Regions from separate parts of the Homo sapiens genome. Here region 2 is linked to region 1. Evidence: promoter capture Hi-C in human tissues and cell types (Jung and others, 2019). All regions are on one chromosome and are shown on one strand. The core of a region is centred on a gene start or on the middle of the fragment in contact, and the rest is flanking DNA. Distances in the headings are between cores, read along the strand shown.

Region 1 (6,611 bases), core at 2,791-5,290:
AGGGTTTAGGTCCAACTGCCCAACAACATGGAGTGACTCAGAGAAAGCTGATGGAGAATACAGGGTACCAGGGCATCACCTGGGCCCACAGAATCGAAGCTCATCAAGCTCTCAGAGAGCAGCTGGTCAAGCCTTTCCTTTTTCTTTTTTTTTTTCTTTTGAGACAGAGTTTCACTCTGTCACCCAGGCTGGAGTGCAGTGGCGTGATCTCCGCTCACTACAACCTCCGCCTCCCTGGTTCAAGTGATTCTCCTGCCTCAGCCTCCTGAGTAGCTGGGATTACAGGCACGCACCACCATGCCTGGCTGATTTTTGCATTTTTAGTAGAGATGGGGTTTCACCATGTTGGCCAGGCTGGTCTCGAACTCCTGGCCTCAGGTGATCCACCCACCTCAGCCTCCCAAAGTGCTGGGATTACAGGCGTAAGCCACCATGCCCAGGCTGGTCAAGCCTTTCCTGTTACAGATGGGGCAACTGAGGCCCAGAGATGGGTGGCAACTTGTCCAAAGTCACAAAGCAAATAGGAGGCAGAACTAGAATGAGGACGAAGCTTCTGAGCCTGAGCCCAGCAGCCTTTCCTGTCCTGCCCCGGTGGCCAGACATCCACTTGCCATGGGAACCTGTCACCTCCCAGGCCCATCTGAGACCTCAACAGCTTCTGAGTGTTTTTGCTGGGCTGTGCCCTGCCCATGGTGCTGAGGACACAGAGGTGAGCCATGGCCATAGCAGCTCCAAGGGGCTATGCATGGGGCCCTGGCCATAAATTCTGTATACAACTGGAGGAATGGACAACGAAGGAACAAATGTGCACCCATTCCAGAGACAAAACGAGGGAGCAATGGATTCTGCTTGGGAAAGTCAGGAAGACAGGAAGCTGGCACTGGAAGATAGGGAGGAAATTCCAGGCAGAGGGAATGATGTCATCAAAGCACAAACTAAGAATAAGACAAAAAATAAGAACCAGAAGACTCTGACACACTTATCAAGGGTTCGTTTCCAGGCAGCACTGCACTAAACATTGTGAATGTTTAACCATTTCGTCCTCCCTCCAGCCAGGTGGTGTTCTTGTCTCCGTTTCTCTGACAGGTGGGCAGGTGCCTGGTATATTAGGAGCACGATGGGCAGTCTGTTATAGCAGAAAGTGCAAGGGGGTGCTGGGGCCTGGGAACAGTAGGGGGGCCTTGATCACCCTCACCCTGCACTCCGCTCAGGTGCAGACATTCCATGGAGGCCTGCTGCAGCACATGGAGAAGAACACCAAGCTGGACATGCAGTTCATCAAAGTGAGTCTGGCCTCCCCACTCGGCCCCCAACTCACTGCAGGCAGGACCCCCTCTCCCATTTGACAGGTAGGCACACACAGGCCAGTGCTGAGCACTGACTGGGCCCCAGATTATCCATGTTCCCAGCTGAGCCCCAAGTCTCCAAACTTCCAGGGCCCTGATCTCTGGGAGGGGTGTCTTGAGCTCTCTGATGTGGGGGGATTCTCCCTCCCCGACTCCACCCTACCCCAGGACAGCCGCCAGCACTATGAGCTCGAGTACCGCCACCGAGCGGCCAACCTGGAGAAGTGCATGTCTGAGCTGTGGCGCATGGAGCGCAAGAGAGACAAGAACGTGCGGGAGATGAAGGTGCGAGGGCCGGGAAGCGGGGGTGGGCCAGGAAGGGCGGGTGGGCAGACCTCGGGGCGAGACCGGGCCCTGGGAACCCCGAACGCCTCCCTGAGCTCCCCCACCGAGCACCAGCCCAACTGTGATGAGCGTGGCTGGGGAGGTCAGCCAGCCCCTGGTGGGGTGGGCGTAACTAGCTCCTAGGGCCACGCCCAGCACCGCCCCTTGCCCTGTGGCTTACTGGCCTTACCCAGAATCCCCGGGCCTCTCCTGCAAACCCATCCCACCTCCCCCATCTCCTACTTCACCGAGAAAATTGCTCGCTTGAACATGGTGCCAAAGGTGTCATCCACCAGCCGCCCATCCTCCTCCCCTCTCTCCTGCCTGGCAGAGGTATCCCGCCCCCGGCTAGGGCCATTCCCCTTCCTGAGCCTGGGGCCCCATCCCTGGCCTCTGTCTCCAAGATCCAAACCCATGGATTAACCCTCTGCCTCCCTTCCCGTCTCTTCTGGCTCCTTTAAGTGAGCTCACGCCTCCCCTCCTCAGAATCTTCCCCCCAAGTAGGGGCTATTAACCTACTCATTCATATTCTCATTAAACCCGTCCCCCTGCCCCCCCAGCCCGTGCTTGGGCTTGTGCTGGGTGCCAGGGACAGAGCGAAGGCTCAGACAGCAGCCCTGCTTGTGAGAAGCACCTGGGAGAGGGAGACGCAGGGCCCAGACTCATAACAAGGCTGCTGATGATGGGGCAGGCTCAGGAGCTAGGATGGGCCGGGTGATGGGGGGTGGGCTTGGGGAGAGGGCAGTCAGGAAGAACAGGGGGCTTGAACAGCTGGCGCCTGTGGGCGAGGGGGGTGGGATGAGACACACCCACCGCCCCCAGCCAGAACTCCCGTTCCCCCCCAGGAGAGTGTGAACCGGCTGCACGCACAGATGCAGGCCTTCGTGTCTGAGAGTCAGCGGGCGGCTGAATTGGAAGAGAAGCGGCGCTATCGCTTCCTAGCAGAGAAGCACCTGCTACTTTCCAACACCTTCCTGCAGTTCTTCGGCCGGGTGAGTTGGACTGGGGGGCAGCAAGCGGGGCGCTTCTAGGAGCTGCCCCCTCCTGAGTGGCCGTACATAGAGGTTTCCCTCCCTTCTTCCCTCTTCCCTCCCTGCCTGCCTGTCTGTAGAAATTCATTTTATTTTGCTATCTCCATCCATTTCTTCCTTTGTTTCTGGGTTTGCTTGTATCACTGTATATTCACTCATTTATTCACTCGTGATATTGTTTGTTTTTAATGCATTCACGAATTCATGCATTTATTTATTCATGTGTGGACCATTTTTTAATTCCTGTTTGTATATTCTCACAATTCACAAATTCATTGATAGGTGTGCTCAGTTATCGTCTATTAATTTTATCATATTATTTATTTATTTATTTTTTGAGACAGAGTTTCACTCTTGTTGCCCAGGCTGGAGTGCAACGGCACAATCTCGGCTCACTGCAACCTCTCCCTCCCGGGTTCAAGCGATTCTCCTGCCTCAGCCTCCCGAGTAGCTGGGACTACAGGCATGTGCTATCACGCCCGGCTAATTTTTGTATTTTTAGTAGAGACGGGGTTTCGCCATGTTGGCCAGGCTGATCTCAAACTCCTGACCTCAAGCGATCTGCCTGCTTCGGCCTCCCAAAGTGCTGCGATTACAGGCATGAGCTACCATACCCAGCCATTTTATCATATTATTTAAATCCTCTATGCTCTTGCATTGTTCTGTCTGCTAGACTAGTCAGACTCTCTCATCTCTCATTGGATTTCTAATAGATTTCACTTTCTGAATTGAGCTGCCATGTTGTTTGGCGTTTTTTGGCTATAACTATTCTACCTTCTTTGTAAATATTGCCATTTATGTACTTAATGTCTCTCTTAAGTTTGATGCTTTTAATTCCGCCTTGTCTGATATTAATACTGCTCTATTTTCTCTTCTCTTTGCTTATCTCTTTGTATGTTAAGTATACTTTCTGTTACTGACTTTTGAGTTTTTGACCAGTCTTACAGTCTGTGTCTTCTAATAGAAAAGGAATTCAGCCCATTCCCATTTAACATAATAATGAAGATACCTGGGTTTTATTCCTTTTAGATAACTTGAGCTAACTGTATTTACTTTGTCATTTCCTCTTTTTCTCCCACACTATTTCTTGTCAGTTTGGTTGAGTTATTATACTATACATTCCCCTTTTCCCTTTATTAATTTAGAAATTGCACTATTTTTTTCTCTCTACCTGTGGTGACCTCACTTTGTGACTTTCATAATCACATATATATCCACCTATTTTCCAAAAATGCCAACTTCACCCTACTACAGACACACACTGTTCAGTCCATCGCTCCGCCAATTCATAAGATGAGACCTTGATTTAAAGCTTTCCACAAAAATTAGGCTGGGCGCGGTGGCTCACACCAGTAACCCCAACACTTTGGGAGCGCGAGGTGGGTGGATCGCTTGAGGTCAGGAGTTCGAGACCAGCCTGGCCAACATGGCGAAACCCCGTTTCTACTAAAAATACAAAAATTAGCTGGGCGTGGTGGCAGGCACTTGTAATCCCAGCTACTCAGGAGGCTGAGGCAGGAGCATTGCTTGAACCTGGGAGGCAGAAGTTGTAGTGAGCCAAAATCAAGCCACTGCACTCCAGTCTGGGCGACAGAGTGAGACTAAGTCTCAAAAAAAAAGATGAGATAATACCTTAAGAAGTATTTTCCTGCCCTCCAACTATTCTGAGGTGGGGCCTTTGGAAAGCTTTTACTCCTGTCTTCATCCTTCCCATCCTCCACTTCCTGGTTTTGCCAAGATAGTTTAGGACTTAGTTTCAGACCTCACTAGTCATCTCTGCAGCATGACCCTTGTATTTTGATAAACTGATTTTATTTATGTGTGTATGTATTTATTTATTTTGAGACGGAGTCTTGCTCTGTTGCCCAGGCTGGAGTGCAGTGGCGCAATCTCAGCTCCCTGCAACCTCCACCTCCCAGGTTCAAGTGATTCTCCTGCCTCAGCCTCCCAAGTGCTGGGATTACAGGTGTGCGCCACCATGCCCAGCTAATTTTTGTATTTTTAGTAGAGACAGGGTTTCACCATGTTGGCCAGGGTGGTCTCGAACTCCTGACCTCAGGTGATCCACCTGCCTCGGCCTCCCAAAGTGCTGGCATTACAGGCATGAGCCACCACGCCCGGTCCTGGCTTGGGGTTCTTATCCCTCCCACGCCTCCCACGCCTCCCACGCCCTCCCCGAGTCTCTGGATCTGAACCCACGGGCCCAGGGATACATGACTGGATCCAAAGACCCAGATTTCGGCTCAGGCTCTCATCTGCCCACTGTCACCGCCTCACCCGGCCCCAGGCTCAGCCTTCTCGTCCCCTGCTATCCCACAAAAGGTCTGCCAGGGAGAAACAACTTCCTTTTTTGAAAAACAGTTTTATTGAGATATAATTCACATACGATTCACCCATTTACAGTGTACACTTTCTGGTTTGTAGTATATTCACAGAGTCATGCATCCATCACCACTATCAAGCTTAAAATATTTTCAATACCCTCCACCACAGTAACCCAGTACCTCGGCCAGGCGCGGTGGCTCACACCTGTAATCCCAGCACTGTGGGAGGCCGAGGCGGGTGGATCACCTGAGGACAGGAGTTCGAGGCCACCCTGGCCAACATGGTGAAAACCCGTCTCTACTAAAAATACAAAAGTTAGCCAAGCGTGGTTGTACATGCCTGTAATCCCAGCTACACAGGAGGCTGAGACAGGAGAACTGCTTGAACCCAGGAGGTGGAGGTTGCAGTGAGCCAAGATTGCACCACTGCACTCCGGCCTGGACAAGAGCGAAATTCCGTCTCAAAAAAAAAATACAAACCGGTACCCCTTAGCTGTCATTCCCAATCCTCCCACTCCCCCAGCCCCAGGCCACCAGGAATCTACTTTCTGTCTCAATACATTTGCCCATTCTGGACATTTCATATAAACAGAATCATACAATGTGTGTGCTCTTTTGCGACTGGCTTCCTTTTCACTGCTGGATAATATTCCATTGCTTGGATACACCACATTGTATTTACTCGTTTACTCGATGTATTTACTCAGATGTTAGCTGATGGACGCCTGGTTGTTTCCACTCTTTGGCTGTCATGACCACTGCTGCGCTGAGCATCCATGTACGAGTCTTCATGTGGACATATGTTTTCATCTCTCTTGGGTATATAAGAGTAGAATTGTGGGGCCATATGGTAACTCTATGTTTAACTGTTTGTGGAACTTCCAGACCGTTTTCCGGAGTGTTTCCGTGTCCATCAGCAGTTTATGAGGGTTCCAGTTGTTTCACGTCCTCGCTACTATTTGTTACTGTCTTTTTGATAATAGCCATCCTAGCAGGTGTGAAGCGATATCTGATTGCAATATTGATTTCCGGTTCCCAGATGGCTAGTGATGTTAAACATGTTTTCCTGTGCTTCTTAGCTATTTATAGATCTTCTTTGGAAGGAAACTCTTTTTCACCTGTGTTAAACTCCTTTTTGCCTGTAAATAGTTAACCATCAACATTAAGAGAAGAGCTGACCCCCTCCTTGACTGCCTCCTCGTGGGTGAGGGTCCCTCAGGAGGGAGCTGTGGGTTGAACAGGCAGATTTTCCCCTATGCATGGTGTGTTAGTCCGTTGTGCATTGCTATAAAGGAATACCTGAGGCTGGGTAATTTATTTTAAAAGATGTTTATTTGGCTCTCAGTTCTGCAGGCTGTACAAGAAGTGCATTGCCCGCATCTGCTCCTGGCGAAGCCTCTAGAAGCTTACAATCATGGCAGAAGGCAAAGGGGAAGTTCATATCACATGGCCAGAGAGGGAGCCGGTGGGGTGCCACACTCTTTCTTTTTTCTTTTTATTTTAAGATGGAGTTCTGCTCTTGTTGCTCAGGCTGGAGTGCAGTGGCATGATCTCAGCTCACTGCAACCTCCACCTCCTGGGTTCAA
Region 2 (6,611 bases), core at 2,670-5,169, 410 kb before region 1:
TGCCCACCTCAGCCCCGCAAAGTGCTGAGATTACAGGCGTCAGCCACTGTGCCCAGCCTGTAAATACCATTTTTAAGACTACAACCTCCACCTCCCCAATTCAAGCGATTCTCCTGCCTCAGCCTCCTGAGTAGCTACAGGCATGCGCCATCACGCCCAGCTAATTTTTTTGTATTTTTAGGAGAGACGGGGTTTCATCATGTTAGCCAGACTATTTCTATTAGGCCCGGCCTATTTATATTATTATTACACCGTAATATATAATGAAGGCCAGATGCGGTGGCCATGTAATCCTAGCACTTTGGGAGGCCAAGGTGGGTGGATCACTTGAGGTCAGGAGTTCAAAACCAGCCTGGCTAATAATGGCAAAAGCCAGTCTCTACTAAAAAATATAAAAATTAGCGTCATGTCGCATGCTTGTAATCCCAGCCACTCAGAAGGCTGAGGCAGGAGAATTGCTTGAACCCAGGAGGCAGAAGTTGCAGTGAACCAAGATCGCGCCATTGCACTCCAGCCTGGGCGACAGAGTGAGACTCTGTCTCTAAAAAAAAACAAAAAACAAAAAAAGCTACATAGGCCTCTCACAATTTGCCCACAAAGAAATTCCTTGTGGGCCTCCAAGATCTTTACACTAAAACAGTTCCGTTGAATTTCACCCCGACAATGTACATTGATGGTTTACCATCACAAGCACAGGACAAAGGACAAAACTAAAAAGTCATCCCTCTGCTCGCCTGAAACAAACACATAGCTGACTGCTGCCTCTGCTCTATGATTATTTTATCTTACGTGAAAATGCAGATTATCTGAGCGTGAGCAGAAAGCATCAGTGAAGACTATCAAAGACCCAGAAGAGGACACGGACACATGGAGCGGGGGAACAACACATACTGGGGCCTGTTGGGGGTCGGCGGAGGGAGAGCATCGAGAAGAATAGCTAACGGATGCTGGGCCTAATACCGAGGCAAGGGGTTGATCTGTGCAACAAACCACCATGACACACGTTTTCTTGTGTAACAAACTTGTATATCCTGAACATGTACCCCAGAATTAAAATAAAAGTTGATGACAAAGGCCAGGCAAGGTGGCTCACGCCTGTAATCCCAGCACTTTGGGAGGCCGAAGCAGGCAGATCACCTGAATTCAGGAGTTTCAGACCAGCCTGGCCAACATGGTGAAACCCTGTCTCTATTAAAAATGCAAAAATTAGCCAGGTGTGGTGGCGTATGCCTGTAATCCCAACTACTCAGGAAGCTGAGGCAGGAGAATCGCTTGAAACCAAGAGGCGGAGGTTGCAGTGAGCCAACTGCACTCCAGCCTGGGCGACAGAGCGAGACTCTGTCTCAAAAAACAAAAGCCGTTGAGATGTCAGTTGGCCCAGAAACACAAAGGGACAGTCACAGACTCACTGGACAAGGGTATGGCGTGGTCGAATGGCTAAAAGGTCAGGCACTGTGCCAGGTAGGCACTGGGTCACGGTGGTGAACAAGTAAGTTCCTGCACTCACAGATTTTACGCTCTAGGAGGGAGACAAAAAGTGTTTATGTCAAGCAGTTACTAATTCAAATGAAAGCAAAGAAAAATGGAAAAGAGAGAATGCATGTGTACTTGTGAAGGAGGAGAGTATGCAGGTTATGCAGTGTTGCATTGGGTTCTGGGGAGGCCTCCCTGATTGAGTGACATGTGAGCACAGACCTAAACTGAGGTATCTAGCCTTGCTGACATAGAGTAAAGAGCGAGTGCAAAGGCCCTGAGGCCGAGTGTGGCTAGAGTAGAACAAGGAGGAAAGACAGAAGAGGGCTGCATCCTCAAGGGCTTGTAGGCCACTGTAAGGCCTTTGTCTTTTCTTTCAAGTGGAAACCTCTGGAAAATTTTAAGTAAAGTGACATAATAAAAGGACCCCTATGACTGCAGTGTGAAGAATAAATTCAGAGTGAGCAAGGACAGGAGCAGGCAGATTAAAAAGAGGCGAGCGCAGTCATCCAGGCAAGAGATGATGAGGATTGGGGCAGGTTAACAGTGTAAATAAAAGAACATGACCCAGGCCGGTGCGGTGGCTCACGCCTGTAATCCCAGCACTTTGGCAGGTCGACACGGGTGGATCACGAGGTCAGGAGTTCAAGACCAGCCTGGCCAAGATGGTGAAACCCCAGCTAAACTACAAATATTAGCCAAGTGCGAGGGCAAGCACCTGTGATCCCAGCTACACGGGAGGCTGAGGCAGGAGAATTGCCTGAACCCGGGCGGCAGAGGTTGCAGTGAGCCGAGATTGTGCCACTGCACTCCAGACAAAAAAAAGAAAAAGAATATGACCCAGGCGAGTCTCAATCACTTTAAGAGGTTCACTTGCCAATGTTAAGAACGTACTTGGGGAAAAAGAACACATAACCACAGAAAAATCAGTGGTCCATGTTTTTTTTCTTTTTGAAGCTCCTTTTCTTATGCTATGTTCCCAAAAATTTGGGAAACAAACACTCAGCACCCACACTGAGGGGCCAAATCTCCCCGCTTCTACCCATCTGTTGAATTGAGACGTTAGATGGGCCCGTCTCGAGGGCCCTAACAGCTCAACAGTCGTGTGACGCCATTTGGCCAAGCTTGCGGGGCTTCAAAATGCAGTTTGAGACGACAGGAAGCAGGTAAGGAGAGGGAAGCCAGTCTGGAAGGAATTGAGCGGAGAACGTGGACTAGCCTGGTTAAACACTTGTCCTTAGCCTTCGCCCTTTCTGTGTCTAAAGACCATCGCTCTGAAACCTTGTTCTCCTGAGAGTGCTGGGGTCTTCTCCGGGCCTTCTGAGGAGCGCCGTTCAACGGCAGCAAAGGGCCCACGGAGTCCACTGGGGCTCCAAGCAATTTTTTTTTTGAGACGGATTCTTGCCCCGTCGTCCAGGATGGAGTGCAGTGGCACGTTCTCGGCTCACTGCGACCTCCGACTCCCGGGTTCAAGCGATTCTCCTGCCTCAGCCTCCCAAGTAGCTGGGACTACAGGCACCCGCCACCATGTCCTGCTAATTTTTGTATTTTTCGTAGAGACGGGGTTTTGCCATTTTGGCCAGGCTGGTCTCGAACTCCGGGACTCAGGTGATCCTCCCGCCTCGGCCTCCCAAAGTGTTAGTATTACAAGCGTGAGCCACCATGCCTGGCCTCCAAGCACATTTTGTTTCTGTATTAGCAACAGCTGTGCTCGGCCAGGGACGGTAAAAATATACGGTTCAGAAAATGCACCTCAGTGTGAACCAAATGTAGCTGAGGGCACTTTAACCTGGAAGGGACATCGCCACCTCACAAACTCCGGAAAGAAAGGGACACGGCTCTTCCATCATGGCTGCCGGAGACAGAGCAGCGAAAGGCAACGGAAAGGAAATGGCGCCGGGGCCCGCCGCCATTCTCAGCGGGCCCAGGGCGGTGGGGCGAGAGGGCTGGCGGCGCCATATAGGAAGGCCAGCCACGGAATTTAAGACCCTCCCGGCCTCTGGCGCCAGAGGACTCTGAAACTTGATAACAATATGGAGGACGGTTATTGTCTCTGCAAAGCAACTTCTTCAAGCCGGCCGCGGGGTCTGTACCGAGATCGGAATCAGGCAAAATCCTCTATTCTCTAAACAGAATGCGTTACGCATACTGCGCATCTTAGCAACAGCAGGCCGGCTAACGACGCAAAGAATGTTACGTCGCACCAGAGGCGCTTCCTCCCACCTCATCCCACGTTCTAGTTCGGGTGGCGCGAGAACTCTACGCTCGCTCCGTACTTTGTTTTTCTTGTACAGACCGCAAAATACACCCATCGTCGCAACTGACGTAAAGTGCTTCCAAGAATACCCGTAGTTCCCCGCGGAGCCCTCGGGCTATTCCGAGGCGCTGTTTACGTATCGTCTCCGCCGTACGCAGCGTTAAGTTGGAGCCGACTCAGCGGCGGCCGCCATTTTGTGCAGTCGCTGGGAAGGAAGGAGACGCCTAAACCGCGGCACTGCCCGGTTTGAGCGTAGCCAAACCTGCCCACCGGCTTTGTAGCCCCGATTCTCTGTGTTTTGCTCCCGTCTCCGACGAGAGAGGCGGCGACGGTGGCGTCTGCGACGGGAGACAGCGCGTCGGAGCGAGAGAGCGCTGCGCCTGCCGCCGCCCCAACAGCGGAGGCGCCGCCGCCATCGGTCGTCACCAGACCGGAGCCGCAGGCCCTCCCGAGCCCGGCCATCCGTGCCCCGCTCCCAGATCTCTATCCTTTTGGGACCATGCGCGGAGGAGGCTTTGGGGACCGGGACCGGGATCGTGACCGTGGAGGGTAAGGGTGGGGGAGGAGAGGAGAGGCCTGGCGTGGGGGTGGGGGAGTTGCTTCTTGGGGAGGCCCGGCGGACTGCGAGCCTGGGAGCCTTGCTCTCGACCCGGGAGGCGAGGGGAGGCGACTCGAGGCGAGACAGCGGTTTCGTGCGCGGACCTCGGCCCCGGGGTCACTCGGGACCCGAGGAGGGCGGCCGCTTGGCGACGCTGGGCCTCTCCGTGCGGACGGCCGTCGTGGCGCGGCCCGGCCCCATCCCAGCCCCGCGGGGGATCGGGAGGGGCGGCCTGGCCGCATCAGCCCAGGCCCGGGCTTTGGCGCCTCGCCTGGTTTCCCGGCTCTCGAGCCGGGCCGCTTCGGGCGGGCTGTTCGATGTCTCCAGGCCTCGGCGTTCATCTGAAAAACGCGGATCTTCCTGAGAGAACACTTCAGCCCAGGAAAGCCTTACACGAAATGGCACCCTTGACGTTCTCTCCCCAGAGTTCACTGTTTAAGGCACGGGAGACGAAAAGACCAACTTCTCATTTTTAGAAATAGATTTTAATTCTCTTCAGTTATATTTTAAGTCGGAGGAAATGCATTGGGATGTAAAGCAGTGGAGTTGCTTGCCATCTAAATGACCGTGTTTGGGGGAAGGATGGGTTTTTGGGTCGTTACTTTAGTTTTAATCTTAATATTTCAGCCTTTTTTCTCTAATTGGACTGCAGCGTCAACTATTCTGCCTCGCTAGAAAGTTCTTGGTATTGTGGACCGGGCGTGGTGCCTCAGGCCTGTAATCCCAGCGATTTGGGAGGCCGAGGCGGGCGGATCACCGGAGGTCAGGAGTTCGAGACCAGCCTGATCAACATGGAGAAATCCCGTTTCTACTAAAAATAACAAAATTAGCCTGGCTTGGTGGCGCATGCCTGTAATCCCAGCTACTCGGGAGGCCAAGGCAGGAGAATCGCTTGAACCCGGGGGGAGGAGGTTGCAGTGAGCCGAGATCGCGCCATTGCACTCCAGCCCGTGGCAAGAGCGAAACTCCGTCTCCCCCGACCCCCCCGCTTCCCCAAAGAGTTACGTGACGCCACTTGATATGTGTGTGTGTGACCTTGGTCAAGATCCTACCTTTTGTGAGCCTGTTTCCTCTGAGGAACGTGATAATTGCCTTTACTTTGCTGTGTTGTCAGGAATTAAGAGATAATGGATGTAATAGTCTCACTGTAGTAGGCGCTCTGTTAACGATATTTTCTCCAAACGTTTTTGTCTTTTGTGGTTCAGATCCACAACTGCTGGATTTACTAGTCTCAAGCACTTCAGTTGCCACTTTTTACAAAATTATTTTGATTTATACCTTATTAGGAAGGAAAATATTTTATCTCATTGTTTAGAGGATGAGAGGTGGAATGTTTGCTTCGCGTGTGACAGTATTGCTAAGTTTAGAAGTGAATTTCAGTTCATTGACTTAGAAAAAGAACTTGAGATTATCTAGGAAAGTTGAAAACGACCCAGCAATTCCTCCCTAAGCTTTATACCCTAGACTGTAATGCCTAGAGAAATCCTTGCACAGGTACCCCAGGATCCTTGTACAGAAAAGTTTATATACCAGCATTCGTGCTAACAGGATATTGGAAACAACGCAAATGTCTCCATAAATTGTGGGTATTCGTACAATTGAATCAGCCGTGAAAAAGAGAAAAGAACTTGGATTAATGTGGATAAGTCACAGAAGTGTTGAGTTAAAAAGCACGTTGTGGTAGGGTGACACATTTAATTAAGGATATGTGCAAATATGATAGGAAAGGGAGTGGTTAACAAAATTCAAGGTAGTGGTTATTAGGGTGAAAGTTGTAAGCTTGAAATAGGCACATAGAGGGGCTACAAGTTACTAATAGTGTTCTATTTCTTTACCATTGGTGTTTGGTTTAATATTTCCTTTCACCATATATATGCTTTAATAAGTTATTTGAAAGGAAAAAAGTGAATTACTGATCCATACTTTGAGTATCAGATGACATTTTTTAAAAATTTCAAACGAACTAGCCTTCTTTCATAAGATCTGTGCCCCAACTCTCCCTTTCCCAAGAAATGTTCTTGATTATTTGAATTGCTGTTGTTTCAACTGAGTGTTACACAGTTGAAGTGGTGGTTATTTTGAAAAAGGAATAGGTGAGGTCAGTTCATGTATTTCACATGTGTGATGCAAAAATGATAGGCATTGTACATTTGAAGTAGTATGGTTTTTAATGTTAATATATGACTTCAAAGGTGAATTTTTTTGTAAAGCCAAATTAAACTAATTACTGACCGGATAAAAACATTTGAGCAGCATAGTATACCAGAGAGTACAGTGTGCGTA

Evidence for each region. Contacts are between HindIII fragments. The study calls those that stand out against the background at their distance.
Region 2: a contact is called between the fragment with the promoter of DDX17 here and a fragment that was not itself captured in region 1, in 3 of the 25 tissues and cell types used here (aorta, dorsolateral prefrontal cortex and lymphoblastoid cells).

The regions. Positions count from the first base shown.
Region 1 is chr22:38,093,083-38,099,693 of GRCh38, reverse strand. It overlaps BAIAP2L2 (BAR/IMD domain containing adaptor protein 2 like 2), which reads left to right. Exons shown (of 14, transcript NM_025045.6): 5 at 1,212-1,283; 6 at 1,515-1,631; 7 at 2,516-2,662. Among named protein-coding and RNA genes, the nearest start is that of SLC16A8, 12 kb to the right of the region's middle. RefSeq lists an enhancer at 808-1,362. The HindIII fragment of the contact is 3,515 bases long and covers 2,283-5,797 here.
Region 2 is chr22:38,503,619-38,510,229 of GRCh38, reverse strand. It overlaps DDX17 (DEAD-box helicase 17), which reads left to right and starts at 3,919. Exons shown (of 13, transcript NM_006386.5): 1 at 3,919-4,279. The coding sequence starts at 3,993. It also overlaps a transcript of DMC1 not described here. RefSeq lists enhancers at 3,084-3,493, 3,071-3,962, 3,894-4,083, 3,963-4,854 and silencers at 4,174-4,443, 4,474-4,643. The HindIII fragment of the contact is 16,171 bases long and covers 1-4,188 here.